Regions from separate parts of the Homo sapiens genome. Here all the other regions are linked to region 2. The links are contacts of gene promoters, found by promoter capture Hi-C in blood cells and fetal thymus (Javierre and others, 2016). All regions are on one chromosome and are shown on one strand. Each heading gives the region's core, a stretch centred on a gene start or on the middle of the fragment in contact. The rest is flanking DNA. Distances are from core to core; before and after follow the strand shown.

What was found. The method cuts DNA at HindIII sites, captures the fragments that hold promoters and counts their contacts. A CHiCAGO score of 5 or more calls a contact.
Region 1: a fragment that was not itself captured here is called in contact with the fragment with the promoter of TTC9 in region 2 in 1 of 17 cell types (total CD4 T cells); the score reaches 5.1 in total CD4 T cells.
Region 3: a fragment that was not itself captured here is called in contact with the fragment with the promoter of TTC9 in region 2 in 7 of 17 cell types (total B cells, naive CD4 T cells, activated CD4 T cells and 4 more); the score reaches 7.7 in total B cells.
Region 4: a fragment that was not itself captured here is called in contact with the fragment with the promoter of TTC9 in region 2 in 1 of 17 cell types (non-activated CD4 T cells); the score reaches 5.2 in non-activated CD4 T cells.

Annotation. Positions count from the first base shown.
Region 1 is chr14:70,872,896-70,876,200 of GRCh38, reverse strand. No RefSeq gene overlaps it. Among named protein-coding and RNA genes, the nearest start is that of PCNX1, 33 kb to the left of the region's middle. The HindIII fragment of the contact is 8,273 bases long and covers 1-3,305 here.
Region 2 is chr14:70,640,300-70,643,567 of GRCh38, reverse strand. It overlaps TTC9 (tetratricopeptide repeat domain 9), which reads right to left and starts at 1,652. Exons shown (of 3, transcript NM_015351.2): 1 at 1,033-1,652. The coding sequence starts at 1,438. TTC9-DT (TTC9 divergent transcript) reads left to right here and starts at 2,270. Exons shown (of 3, transcript NR_110071.1): 1 at 2,270-2,560. RefSeq lists silencers at 1,098-1,167, 1,188-1,377, 1,598-1,747 and enhancers at 2,218-2,477, 2,578-2,757. The HindIII fragment of the contact is 1,411 bases long and covers 408-1,818 here.
Region 3 is chr14:70,820,244-70,823,637 of GRCh38, reverse strand. LOC124903341 (a long non-coding RNA gene) reads right to left here and starts at 1,765. Exons shown (of 2, transcript XR_007064246.1): 1 at 1,516-1,765. RefSeq lists a silencer at 1,646-1,845. The HindIII fragment of the contact is 2,143 bases long and covers 181-2,323 here.
Region 4 is chr14:70,889,475-70,892,886 of GRCh38, reverse strand. No RefSeq gene overlaps it. Among named protein-coding and RNA genes, the nearest start is that of PCNX1, 16 kb to the left of the region's middle. The HindIII fragment of the contact is 2,771 bases long and covers 1-2,764 here.

The DNA of each region.
Region 1 (3,305 bases), core at 678-3,177, 230 kb before region 2:
TGAGGTCTTGAATAGGGGCTGGGTAAAATGAGGCTGAAACCTACTGGGCTGCATTCCCAGACAGTTAAGGCATTCTAAGTCACAGGATGAGATAGGAGGTCGGCACAAGGTACAACTCATAAAGATCTTGCTGATAAAACAGGTTACAGTAAAGAAGCCGGCCAAAACCCACCAAAATCGAGATGGTGATGAGAGTGACGTCTGGTTGTCCTCACTGCTACACTCCCACCAGCGCCATGACGGTTTAAAAATGCCATGGCAACATCAGGAAGTTACCCTATATGGTCTAAAAAGGGGAGGCATGAATAATCCACCCCTTGTTTAGCATATAAACAAGAAATAACCATAAAACCATGCATTTCTATGGAATAGCCATTCTTTTGTTCCTTTGTTTCCCTAATAAACTTGCTTTCACCTTATTGACTTGCCCTGAATTCTTTCTTGCACGAGATCCAAGAACCCTCTTTTGGGGTCTGGATCAGGACCCCTTTCCTGTAACAACAGGATTGATGGCATTTGGATTCCTTTGGAAAATCTGTCTTTAGACAAACAAGGAGAATTTTTAAAGCCTTGCTCTGAGTACCTGTTAGCAGCAATAGTATACAAAAGCAACATATTTTGGGGTCATATCTTCCGAACTTCTGAAACCGCCTTTGCCAAAATCATACCTGAGGAAATTATGACAGTGAAAGAGATCAGACCTAACTGACTCCATCTTGCTTTCAACCTTTAAGTTGTCCTTGTTCATTCCTGGGCGTAGGCTGAACTAACCTTCAGAAGGAATTTAGTTTATAGTTTAACTCTGAAACAAAATTGATAATAGCCCTTTTCCAAAAAAAAAAAAAAAAAAACCCTTCTTGTCTGGGGACCGGTCTGCCTTTATAGGACTAACAAATTAGCTACAAGATTAGAAATTGTGGTTTAGTGACCACACAGCCTCCAGCTGCAAGATTCTTAACCTCCCAAAATTGCTCCTGGGGAAAATATAACTATTGGAAAACCTAAGATCAATGCTTGAGATATTTTGCAGACCCTGCACTCCATGGATCAACTGACTCCACCCAGACTGGTAATCTGGTTCCACCAATTCTATGATCCCATCCAGGAACAGAAGACAACAAGCAAGAAAACTCACTTGACTCCTCTATGATTCCATCTCCAACCTGACCAATCAGCACTCCCTACTTCCCGAGCCCCTACCCGCCAAATTATTTTTAAAAACTCTGATTCCCAAATGCTCGAGGAGACTGATTTGAGTAATAATAAAACTCCATCTCCCGCACAGCCGGCTCTACATGAATTACTCTTTCTCCATTCTAATTCCCCTGTCTTGATAAATTAGCTCTGTCTAGGCAGCTGGCAATGTGAACCTGTTGAGCAGTTATACTTCTTCAATGGCTAGTTTTGTTTAATAAGTAATTCAAGCATAATTGTAAAGAATGAGTAAATAAGGTGAATGTAAATGGCATCAAAATTTATAAATAAATTTATCATAGTTTCCAAAATCTTTTTCAGCAACTTCAAATTTTAAAATCATGTTAAATTAAGTAATTGAAAATTACTTTATTTTCAATTCATTTTAAATTCAATAAAATACTGAAACATTAATTATTAAGCATAGCTTTAGTTTATATACTTCAACATCTTGTTTTTAATACAGTATATAGAAGTTAAATATATTTGGATCTATTAAGAAACATAAAAATCTGGCTGGGCGTGGTGGCTCATGCCTGTAATCCCAGCACTTTGGGAGGCCAAGGCGGGCAGATCACCTGAGGTCAGGAGTTTGAGACCAACCTGGCCAACATGGCGAAACGCCATCTCTACTAAAAATACAAAAATTAGGCGGGCATGGTGGTGTGCGCCTGCAATTCCAGCTACTTGGGAGGCGGAGACAGGAGAATTGCTTGAACCCAGGAGGCAGAAGTTGCAGTGAGCTGAGATCATGCCACCGCACTCCAGCCTGGATGACAGAGCAAGACTCTATCTCAAAATAAATAAATGGATAAATAAATAAGAAGAAACATAAAAAATTGAGGAAACATTTCTTTCTAAAAATTAGGAAATGGCTTTCATCTACAAATACTGATATAAAACAGTTTAAAATGGATTACTTCCTTGATTGTTCACTGGAAATTAATGTTACTAAGAGTTAAAATTATGATTAATGTATATAATTAAAATATGGTACATATATGTTTACTATATGTGAAATGGGTGGAGTTCCCTTATCACCTTCACAGGGTATGTGACAGGGGTGTGGCTTGCCTCTTCAGGGCCCTACTTCTCAAACCCTAGGGGAGCATGCAGACGGGTGGGTCATGGAGAGCATTTTTGGGCTCTGACCCACAGCAGAGTCTAGGGTTGAGGGTTTGCAGCTCCCGAAGCCCCAGCGGGAGTGTGTTACAGTATATTCTTTCAGCTTTGCCATCTGCTGGTGGCTTGTGTTAATCAGCTCAATTAGACCCTTTGCCCTATCACAAGGACAAAGGGTTTCTGTAGCCTGGGTTCTTGCTCTAGTGTACTGGAAAAATCGGATCACATGTGGACTTGGAGAATGAGTGCAAGGTTTTATTGAGTGGTGGAAGTAGCTCTCAGTGAGATGGATGGGGAGCAAGAAAAAGGATGGAGTGGGAAAGTGGTCTTCCCTGGACTTGGGCCATCCAGCAGCTAGACTTTCCTCCAACCACCCTGGCCGAATTCCTCTTGGTGTCATGTCGTTCTGCCTTCAATGGCCTGCTGGTGTCTGCTGGTGTCTGTCTTCTGCTTCTCTCAATGTCCAGCTGCTTGTGTGTGTGCCCGCTGGGGTCTCAGGTTTTTATGGGCACAGGATGTGGGGGGTGTGGTGGCCCAAAAGGCAACATTTTGGGTGTGAAAACAGAAACATCTGTCCTCATTTAGGTCCGTGGGCACAGGCTCGAGGATGGAGCCCTCATCAGGGACCCCCCCCTTCTCTACCCAGCACTTCCCTGCCCCCCTTCCCATAGCATATGCCTATATACAATACATATTATATATAACATACATAATATATACATATAGTACATATGGGTACTATATGTATGTGCTATACAGAATATATAGTACATTTATAGTATATATATGGACAGAAATATACTATACATATAATATAGCATGTATGTAGTGTAGTATGAACTATACTGAATATATGTACTATACATATATTCTATAGTACATATATTCTGTATTGTACATATATATGTATTGCATGTATGTACTATACAGAATTATTTCTTTTGTTTTTAGTTACATATATGTAATATGTACTACTGATGAAGGCAGGA
Region 2 (3,268 bases), core at 403-2,902:
CATGTCAGGAACTAGGAGGAACTGCCCTTTGTTTGGTCGGAGAAGGTTGACCATGCCAGAATCTCACCAAATGGGGCAAGAGAAGAGGAGAGAATGCTTTTTAAGTTGCCTTTGCCAACCTCTCCCACCTTCTCCCAGGAAGGCCCTAGCAAGAGCCAGACTCTTCTTTTTTTAAGAGACTTTAAATATTCCTGCGCCTAAATTAAACAATTTTTAAATCCCTGATTTTGGCTCTTATCCCCAAAGGGAATGTTGGAATGTACACCTTCTTTGCCCAAGAGTAGGGCCCCCTTTTCCTTCACCCCTAGCAGCCAGCTGGCGTGAGGACTGATGCTACACATAGTGAGAAACGGGCAGGGAGGAGAGGGAGAATGCAGCATAGTTCAAGCCCAACCATGAACCAAGCTTCTTTTGAGATAGAGATCTTCACCTGGCAACCGGGAGCCCCAGCAGAGCTCAGAGAGAAGAAAGTGGCATTCTGGAATCCATTTTGCTCAAGATGCTGAAGGCATGGTGTCAAACTCCCCTTTGCTACTGGGGCCAAAAAACTTGGGGAAGATCTTACCTACAGGGATGCGGTTAGTTGGGGAAAAGGCGAGGACCAATCCTGGTGCTCATGCTACCTAAGGAGAGCAGACAGGTGCGTGGCCTCCCTTGGGACCCACCCGCAGGAAAAAGCTGGGCTAGCGGTGGCTGCGGGGGCCCACCCCGGGCGCTGCTTCCGCATTTTGGACCCAGGTCCACTGGTGAGCAGTAGCAGCAGCAGCCATAGCCAGGCCAGCTGGGTCCCCTTCCAGTCATTTCTAGGTGAGATTTACGATGTATGCTAGCGAAGGGACAAGAGATGATTATGGCCTTTGAAAGGCATAATCCTGAAAGTCACACTTTTTCCAAAGCGCCTCCCTCCCGGGTTCTCCCCAGAGCAACACAGTCACAGCAGGAGAATCTGCACCGCGGGAGCGCCGCAGTGGTCCGCGGAGGGACCGGGCCGAAGAACGGGGACCGCGGCGCGGGGGGCGCGGCGCGGCTCACCTGCCAGGCTGTTGTAACAGTCGATCTCGATGGCTTCCACCGTCTTGCTCTGCTCCTCCGAGAGGCGGCCGGGCTTCAGGGCCCCAGCCGGGGAGGCCGGGCGCGAGTCCCGCTCCCGTTCCCCGGGGGGCGGCAGCAGCCCCTTCAGCTCCAGCAACGCCCGGTGGTATTTGCCTATGGCTTCACGGAATTTCTTGTCCTTGTAGCACTGCGCCCCTTGGCTTTTGAACTCGTGCGCTCGTCGGATGAGCTCGGCCGGCTCGGCCGCCGCCCCGACCTGGCCCCTCGCTGGGGCTCCTCCGCCGCCGCCCGGGACGCACAGCGGCGGCGGTGGCCGCTGCCCCTCTCCGGCCGCGGGCGGGCTCGGGTTCCCCTTGGCCCCGGCCGCCGAGCCCTTTCTCTCCATTCGGCCGCCGCCCCGGCGCCTGGTGCGCGCCGCGATCTGCCCGCCGCCGCCGCCGCCGCCGCGCCTTCCCGGGTTTAAAAGCCGCGGGCGCCGGCCCCGCGCCTCGCAGGCTTCGTGGCGGCCGTGACACCCCGCGGCGGTCTGGCGCCCCGCACTCCCATTCTCCCCGCTGCTGCCAGAGGCTGCTCCAGCCGCCGCCGCCGCCGCCTCGGACGCCGGCCCCTCCCCCGCCTCCCGGCTCCGCGCCGCCCGCTCCCGCCCTCCTCCCTCCGCAACCTGCGGGTGGCGGGGGCCGGTGCTCGCGGGCCCGGGACTAGCGCTGCGGGGGGACCGTGGCCCCGAGTGGGGTGGCGGGGATGGTCGCTGACCCGGAAGAAGCTTGGCTTGCCCGAAGGAGGGGAGGATTAATGACAAAGACGGCCCCGCTCTTTCCCATTCAATCCCGCTCTGCGAGGCGCGCCTAGTCTGAAAGGAGGTGGGGGGAGGGGGGTAGGTGTAGGGGAAGGGGAGTGTGTGTGTGTGCGTGTGTGTGTGTGTGTGTGCGTGCGTGTAGGGATGGGGGGCGGCGGCGACGAAATGCGTGCAGAAATAGATTTCTTAACTACAAGAAAAGGTGCGGCAGGGAACAAGGGGCGCAGGCGCAAGCCGTAGCTGCTAGTTCTTTGCAGTAAGGTGTTAGTATTTTTTAAGGGGGCAGGGCCTCCTTTTTGTGGATCCAGGTTGTCGCTGAGGTGTGTCTCGGTGTGTGTGGTCGCCGGGGCGTCCAGAACGCGACGGGCGGTACAGCGTGTGGGGCGCCGTATTCTGGGAGCCTGTGTATGCGTGTGCTGTGTGCGCGCAGCTGTGCAGGATGAATCACAGACATCAGAGATGGAGAACACCTGTTACTGTGGGTCATCGGCTTGGCGTGCGTCCGGTCTAGTTTCCATTTACAGGACAGTTCTGTGCCCTTCCTCAGGAGGTCCCATTCCTTCCTTCTTTTGGTCGGTTCTGAGTGTCAGCTGTCTACTGGGGATCTGCTAAGGCTAAGAGGCAAAGATAGGCAAGTCACTCCCCTGACCTCAAGAAACTCCCAGTCTACAGGCGAAGATACACCACCCACCGGTAGAGTCGCTGGACCAGGTACAGATGGTGCCTGTCATTGGGGAGGAACGAAAAGTGCTGTGCAGCCCTGAGGGGGGGAGGGAGAGGTAGCTTTTTGAGTAGTGGTAGATCAGGAGGCTTTATGGAGGAAATAGCATTTGAGGACCTTGAAGGCTGGGTAGGATTTGGCATGAAGAAGTAGAAGGAAGTGGCATAGCCGGAGTGAGGAAATCCAGCGGAAGTCCTGATGTTTGAAATCTCAGGTGTGTTTAGGGCATAGTGGTTTGATTTTATAGCCTAATGAGAAGTAGTGGGAAATGACGGGGTTGGATTATGGGGGCTTTTGGATGAAGAGTTTGGATTTGATTTTGGAGTCAATGGAGAAGCCTGACATATTTTTTAGTGCCCTCCCTTCCTTAATGTTAAGAAAAAGAAAGATTCTAGAGCACCGGTTGTCAGAGTGCTGGCCCCAGACCTGCAGTGTCAGCATCACCTGGGAAACAGTTAGAAATGCAAATCCTAGGATCCTACTCCAGACTTAAGAAATCAGAAACTCTGAGGGTGGGTCTCAGTTAACCAGTATATTGGTTCAGATATGCTGCTTTAAAACCTTCCTACTCAAAATGTAGACCTTGGGCCAATATCATCAGCATCACAGGAGAACCTATCAGAAATGCAGAATCTGAAAATCCCACACCTACTAACCCAGAAGCTGCATTTTAACGAGCATACTGGGTGATTTGTTTA
Region 3 (3,394 bases), core at 3-2,502, 180 kb before region 2:
GGTTTCAAATCTCTATTTCAGGCAATACTTGATATATTATGTATTTATAATTCAAGTTTTCAGACTTTTCTTAGCAGCAGGTTATAAAAAGGAGAGAAGCAGAAGCTGAGACAGGGAGGAAGCAAACAGAATGGGGCAGAGGTGGGAGTGGGAGGCTGAAGGCTTCCAGGAAGATAAGCTTCCTCGACTGTTAGTGGATTCCGCATCTGCGGCAATTCTACCCCCATCCGGACTAGAGGCTTTGGGACTACTGAGAACCAGGACCACCTATTTTCACAGCAAATGCCTGGAAGGAACCCAGGTGTCACATGTTGAGGGTTTATCAGAATAAATGGCTGTTATTTTCTTTTCCTCTTCCCTTTCCTTCTCACCTACCCTTATTAGTGATCTAGTGTCATAGCTGCAGAGTGACAGCAGGGAGACAGGAGTGAGCGGAGAGTGTGGGACAGAGGGGAAGAAAGAGAAACAGGCCATACGCAGACCTACAGGCAGCTCCTGAGCTACCCAGATCGCTTCTCCTGTACAGGAAGAGCTGCTGGCCCGAGGGAAGGGAAGAGGGGGTCCCTGTTGGAGCAACTGGAGTGGCAGGAGGCGAGTGGGTCGAGGGAGAGTTATTAATATGCACTAGAACACATATTTACAACTGGTGGCTTAAATTAAGGGCAGCACATTCACACCTAGCTACTCCCAGGCTTCCCACAAAGACATCTGAAGCGTGCAAAGCGCGCTCCCTGAGCCCAGCCCACCAAGGGGCGCGGCCCGCCTTGGTAGGGACAAGGTCTCTGGCGCTGGCCTGAGCGGCTGCGGGAGTTCGCTCCTGGGAGAGCGCAGCGAAACCGAGGGCATCCTTCCCTGTAAGAGGAGGGGGCGGAGGAAGGGAGGAGGGGAGGAAGGAAGGAGGGGAGGAGGGGAGGAGGAGAGGAGGAGGGAAGAAGGAAAGTGGGGGTGAAGGGAAGGAGGAAAGGAGGCGGGGAGGGAGAGACGGAGGAAGAGAGGGTGGGAAGAAGGAAGGAGAGAGAGAGGGCGAAGAGGGGAGAGAGGGGCGAACGAGAGAGATGTGGGGAGAGGGGAGAGGAGAGGGACGGGGCAGGGGAGGGGAGAGCGAGGGAAGAGAGAAAAAGAGAGAACGCAAGGGGGTCGGGGAGAAGAGAGAGGAGAGCGAGAGAGAGCGGGAGGAGAGGGGGAGGGAGAGAGACGGGGGAGAGCGAGACAGAGCGTGGGGAGACGGGGAGAGGGGAGAGCGAGAGAGCCAGGGGAGACGAGGAGCGAGCGAGAGGAGAGGGGAAGAGAGAGAGAAGGGGGAAAGCAAGAGAGTGGGGGGAAAGCGAGAGAGAGAGAGGGGAGAGACAGAGGGCGGGGGAGAGCGAGCGCGAGCGAGGGGAGGGGAGAGAGAGAGGCGCGCGCTGGTTGCTCCCGCGAAACCCTAAGCTCCGCCAGCGCTATTGCCCCTCCCGCTGCCAGCCCCGCGTCCACGTGGGGAAACTGTCCCTCCTGTGCCGGGAAGAAACGACTCACCGCCTTGCAGAGGCGCGGAAGCTGTGCGCGGGACGCCACGGCCCCGAAGCCGCGAGTGACCGCAGCTCCGATCCCCCGGCGGGAGGCCTGCCCGAGCGTGGGAGCCGAGCCCAGGGCCCTTTCTCCGCACTGGCTGCGGACCTAACCCTTCCTGGGCCCCTCCTCCCCCTGGGGAGAGAACGTCAGCGCCGAGGATCCTGATGCGGGGGCGCGGTGGCGCCGACCGAGAGCCCGCCCGGTCCCCGTGTTGGGGGGCAGAAGGGGAGGGGTGGGCCGCAAGGGGCGGAGAGGGCCCGGCGTCCCAGCTGGGATGGAGTTACCAGAATGGGGTTCGAGGCAGCCTAACCCTCCGCGCTGAGTCCTGGAAGGCAGCCTCTGTATGTAGCTCGGTGCATTTTGCACGAAGATAGGCTGCTCCCGGCGGGGTAGGGGGTCGGGGAAAGGTCCTCCTGGGGGTAAACTGATCAGAGAGCCGATAATGGATTCTGGCTCCGACACACGCCACCCCTGCTTGCTTAGTGGCTCTGCACCCCACTTTTTATATAAAGTGGTTATTCAAAGTACCTAGCACATAGGTTTTTTGGTGAATATTGAATGGGAAGGGCAGGTGAAGTCCTTGGCACAGGCCCGGCACACCGACCGATGGACCCAAGAATGTCAATTATTTTTGCTGTTATTCCCTCCAACCTCAGCTGTCCTTTCTCAGAAGCAAAGCTAGGAGACACCAGAAGAGCCGGTGCGAAAGTTTGGCTTGTTTTAACATAAAACCCACACTCCCTAAGGAAGTGGATTCTGAGTGGGAAAAGCTTTGGAGTCAGAAGCAGGAACCCCTGATTGGGTCTTGGGCTTCTGTTCCTTAGTACTGTTCCTTAGTACTTAGCCACACTGAATAAACTCCCTGGGCTTCCGTTTCCTTATTAGTAAAATTGGCTAAAAAGTCCCAACCAGGTAGTACGATCCCTTCTGCCTTTATTGAGGGCTCACTATGTTCTAGGCACTGCTCTTAGGGCTGCCTCCGTATTATCTCAGTTAATCTCTAAGCTAGTTTAGGAGGTAGTTAGGATTATTTAAAATCTCCATTTTGCACTTGAAGAAACCAAGACTTAACAGAGAGGCTAAGTAAATTGTCCTAGACCACACAGTGAGTCATGGCAGAACTGGACAGAACTGAGATTCAACTCAGGCAACCTGGTTCCAGAGTCTGTATTTTTTTTTTAATAGACAAGGTCTTACTCCCTCTCCCAGGCTGAAGTGCAGTGGCGCAGTGGTGCCATAGCTCACTGTAACCTTGAATTCCTGGTAGCTGGGACCACAGGTGTGCACCACTATATCTGGCAAAGTTTTTAATTTTTTGTAGAGACAGGGAGGGACTCACTTTGTGGCCCAGGTTGGTCTTGAACTTCTGTCCTCAAGTGATCCTCCGGTTTTGCCTCCCAAAGCATTGGGATTATAGGCATGGGTCACTGTGCCTGGCCTCAGAGTCTGTATGTACTCTTAGTCAGTATACTGGCACCTGTCTGTAAAAGTGTTTTCTGAACTCTAAAATAGTATATAAATGTTGGCTGTGATTACAGTGAGTGGTACAGTTGGTAGGTCGGTGGCTTCGTCTTCGTATACTAATGGAGGGTATGTCTATCAGTGCCCAACCTACTGCCTAGTACTCAATAAGCTGTCAGTCACTCTGCCATCCCTTGCCCACATCCCAGGAAGGAGTGTACCCATGCAAAAGAATGGCAATTCCATCATGTACAGAGCTGGGGAAGAGGGCAGACTATAAGATAACGAAGAGACATCATGAAGCTGCAAGCAATTGCACCTGACCTGGGTATCAACAAAACCCCAGGAAGCAAAGATGGGAAGGCTTCAGGTTGGAATCTCC
Region 4 (3,412 bases), core at 130-2,629, 250 kb before region 2:
TAAGCAAGAGTCCATTAGAAGTTTCATTATAAGTGAAGGGTATGTGTTAGGGTTGAGTACCCAGCTTTGATACACAGCAGGGCTTAAATGTAGTATGTGCACTACCATAGTCAGATCTATCAGGAAGGCTGCACGATGAGCCACATTCTCCACTGATGTCTTTTGGAGATACTCAAAATGGATGATATTCACACAAGCAGGCACACTGTCATAGGAAAACTCAGATTCAAACTTTGGTGAAACCCAGTATTTTCCAGGGAGGAAAGCAAGGCAATAACTTATAATCACAAAAACTATTATTATCTCCACCAGCCATGGTCTTTTAGTGCTACTGCACAGATATAACTGATGTGTGTGATTCCCCAGATAGCTTGCTGCAATTTGACCTATTCTTTCTGCTCAAAAAATGCACTTCAGGCCAGGCGCGGTGGCTCTCACCTGTAATCTAAGCACTTTCGGAGGCCGAGGCAGGTGGATCCCCTGAGATCAGGAGTTCAAGACCAGCCTGGCCAACATGGCAAATCCCCATCTCTACTGAACATACAAAAATCAGCCAGGCTTGGTGGTGCATGCCTGTAATCCCAGCTACCAGTTCTGAGGGGGAGCTGAGGCAAAAGTATCACTTGAACCTGGGAGGTGGAGGTTGCAGTGAGCCGAGATCGTGCCACTGCACTCCAGCCTGGGCAACAGAGCAAGACTCCATCTCAAAAAAAAAAAAAAATGCACTTCAATACAAGAAAATGAGAGACTCTTGACTTATGATTCTAAATTATCACCATCAAATATAATTCTTTTGTTAATGACGAATTCTTGTGTGAAACGTCTCACAACTGAATGCCATACAGTGGAATAGAACCTGTTTACTGGGAAGGGTGTAGGATTGGGATTCAGAGAGACTGTGTTCATTTCTGGATTGTAACTCACTACCTGTTGCTTAAGAAAGCAAGTCTATTTCCTCATCTGTGGAATGCATAAAATGACCCCTTTATCTCAGGCTTACTGAGAGAATTAAATCAGGTTTGAAACAGTATGCTGTAAATTGCCAGGCAAGTGTCAATCATTGTCATTGTCTCCCACAGCTGCCAGTTCCTTGCATGGGCCACCATGTCTGTAGCATAGCCCCATAGAGTGTCTAGATTTTTCCTGCTACAAGCCCACAGAAGAGCCTCCTCAGTGATGCAATACATACGTTAATTTCTTAAGGTTAAAAAATAATTTCTCTAAATTGAGGTGAGTTGATATACTTTTCCAACCCAAATATCAGGTCTACTTCAGCAGCTGCTAAAGGAAAGAAATTACCCCTGCTCCTATTTCTCTCTGCTCCTGCAGAGTAAAACAGCAGCTAAAAACCAAGATTCTCTGACACTATTTCCTTTCTCAGCATTATAGGCCAGTATCCTGGGATCTGACATTAACCATTAGGAATTTCTTCAGCAGCAGCAGACTGGGAAAAGCAACTGCCAGTACTAAAGGAATACATTAAAACTCTTTTAAAAAAAAAAGTCACGAAGATAGTTGGATATGCTGAGTTGACTCAGACTCTTCAATATAGAGCAGTCATCTTGATGGCAACATTCATCCTGACTACGCTAAACAGGTGACCTATTCTATCAGCGATGGTGTCCAGAGCCATTGAAACACAATGTACATCATTATGTCATATACGAGGGGAAAGTTGACTAAGGTTCCAAGATCCCAAGGGTTTTAATTAATAGGAAAATTTGATTCAATAATAGTCATTTAAAAAAATGGAAGGAAAACAAGGGGAGGGAGTGATAAGGGTGGGAAGCATAGACAGGAAGCTGTATAAAATGCCCTGAAGGCTTGAAGTTGGCACTACTATAAGTCAGGGCCAGATTAGCTAGGGGACTGAAATAGCCGCAGAGAAAGAGTCCAGGAGCTACCAACACAACCATTCTAATCATGTTCTTCTCTTATCAAGCAAACTCCACTTCCTTTCTTTATCATCTACTTTATAAGTGCTCACTAGTGGCTCCACTACCAGCTTCCCCTGCAGAACTGAGAGGCTCAACTATTCCTGTTGGGGTAAAAATGATGAGAAAAATATCTCAGGATATTTCTGACTCTCTTCTCTCCACCCCCATGAACATCTCCCACCCCCAGGGCCCCAATTCTGCTTTTCTTCACTTAAAAAACTTCAAGCCAGGCCAGGTGCAGCGGCTAATGCCTGTAATCCCAACATTTTGAGAGGTTCAGGTGGGCAGATCCCTTGGGCTCAGGAGTTCGAGACCAGCCTGGGCAACATGGCAAAACCCTGTCTCTACAAAAAATATAAAAAATGAACTGGGCATGGTGGTGTGCATCTGCAATCCCAGCTGGGGCTACCCAGGAGGCTGAGGCGGGAGGATCAACTGATCTTGAGAGGTCAAGGCTGCAGTGAACCGTGATTACACCACTGCATTACAGCTTGGGCGATGGAGTGAAACCCTGTCTCAGAAAAAATTTAAACCCTCAAATCATCCCTCTTCGGTGAAGCCTTCCTTGACCTCTCCAGCACTTACTAATTTTTATTTTTCTTAATACCTATGACTTGTACATAACACAGTAAATGGACACAGTAGACATATTTCTGTCTCATGTGTGCTGACCTTTTCTTCTCAAATAGATTATAAACACTTTGAGGACGGGACTCATTTTAAACTTCTTGAAATCATCTGCCAAATTCTGTGATTTGGTGATTAGCCCGGCTAGGATCAACTTAGGCCCTAGAGTATCTCTATAGTTGGGGAGAATGTAAAAAGCTTTAGAGGTACTAAAAACGCAAAAATGAAAAGCAGAGTATGAGTTTCTCAGCATGATAGCATCAAATCAGCCTTGCTACTGGACCTACACAAACCTTTTCTTTGATTCTAGTAGCCAGTCTTATTCCTGAAGATCAAGTCCCTAACAGCCTGTCCGTAGGTCCCTTTTCAGTGACTCTTGTTGATATCTCATTTGTTCTAGATTGTGCGCTTTCTCTTGCTAATCCTTTAAAAAAAAAAAAGAAACCCAAATCCTGCCTCTGAACCTCACCCTCGAAGGTGCAGTCCCTGCTACCCACTATCCTGAGCAGCCCCTTTGGATTTCATGACTGCCCAGACCTCTGTAGTGCGTGGGCTGTGCTCCACCCACCTGTAGTTAATCTCACACCCTACCTGGCACTGGCTGGCCAGTCTGCTTCTTTGGTCTGCCTCTTTCTGCCAAGATCTTCTGGAAACGCCTGCCTTGCTCCTGGGCTCCTGGCTGGTCCCCGCATCCTTTCCATTTTGCCATCAACTAAGCCATCATTCTCAGATTTAAGAAAAAGAATTCCCCTCAATATTAAAGACACAGCAGACACATACACGTGCAAATACCCATAGTCATAAGTTCCTTTATCATTGAGAAAATTTTTACTACCTTCCTAAATTTA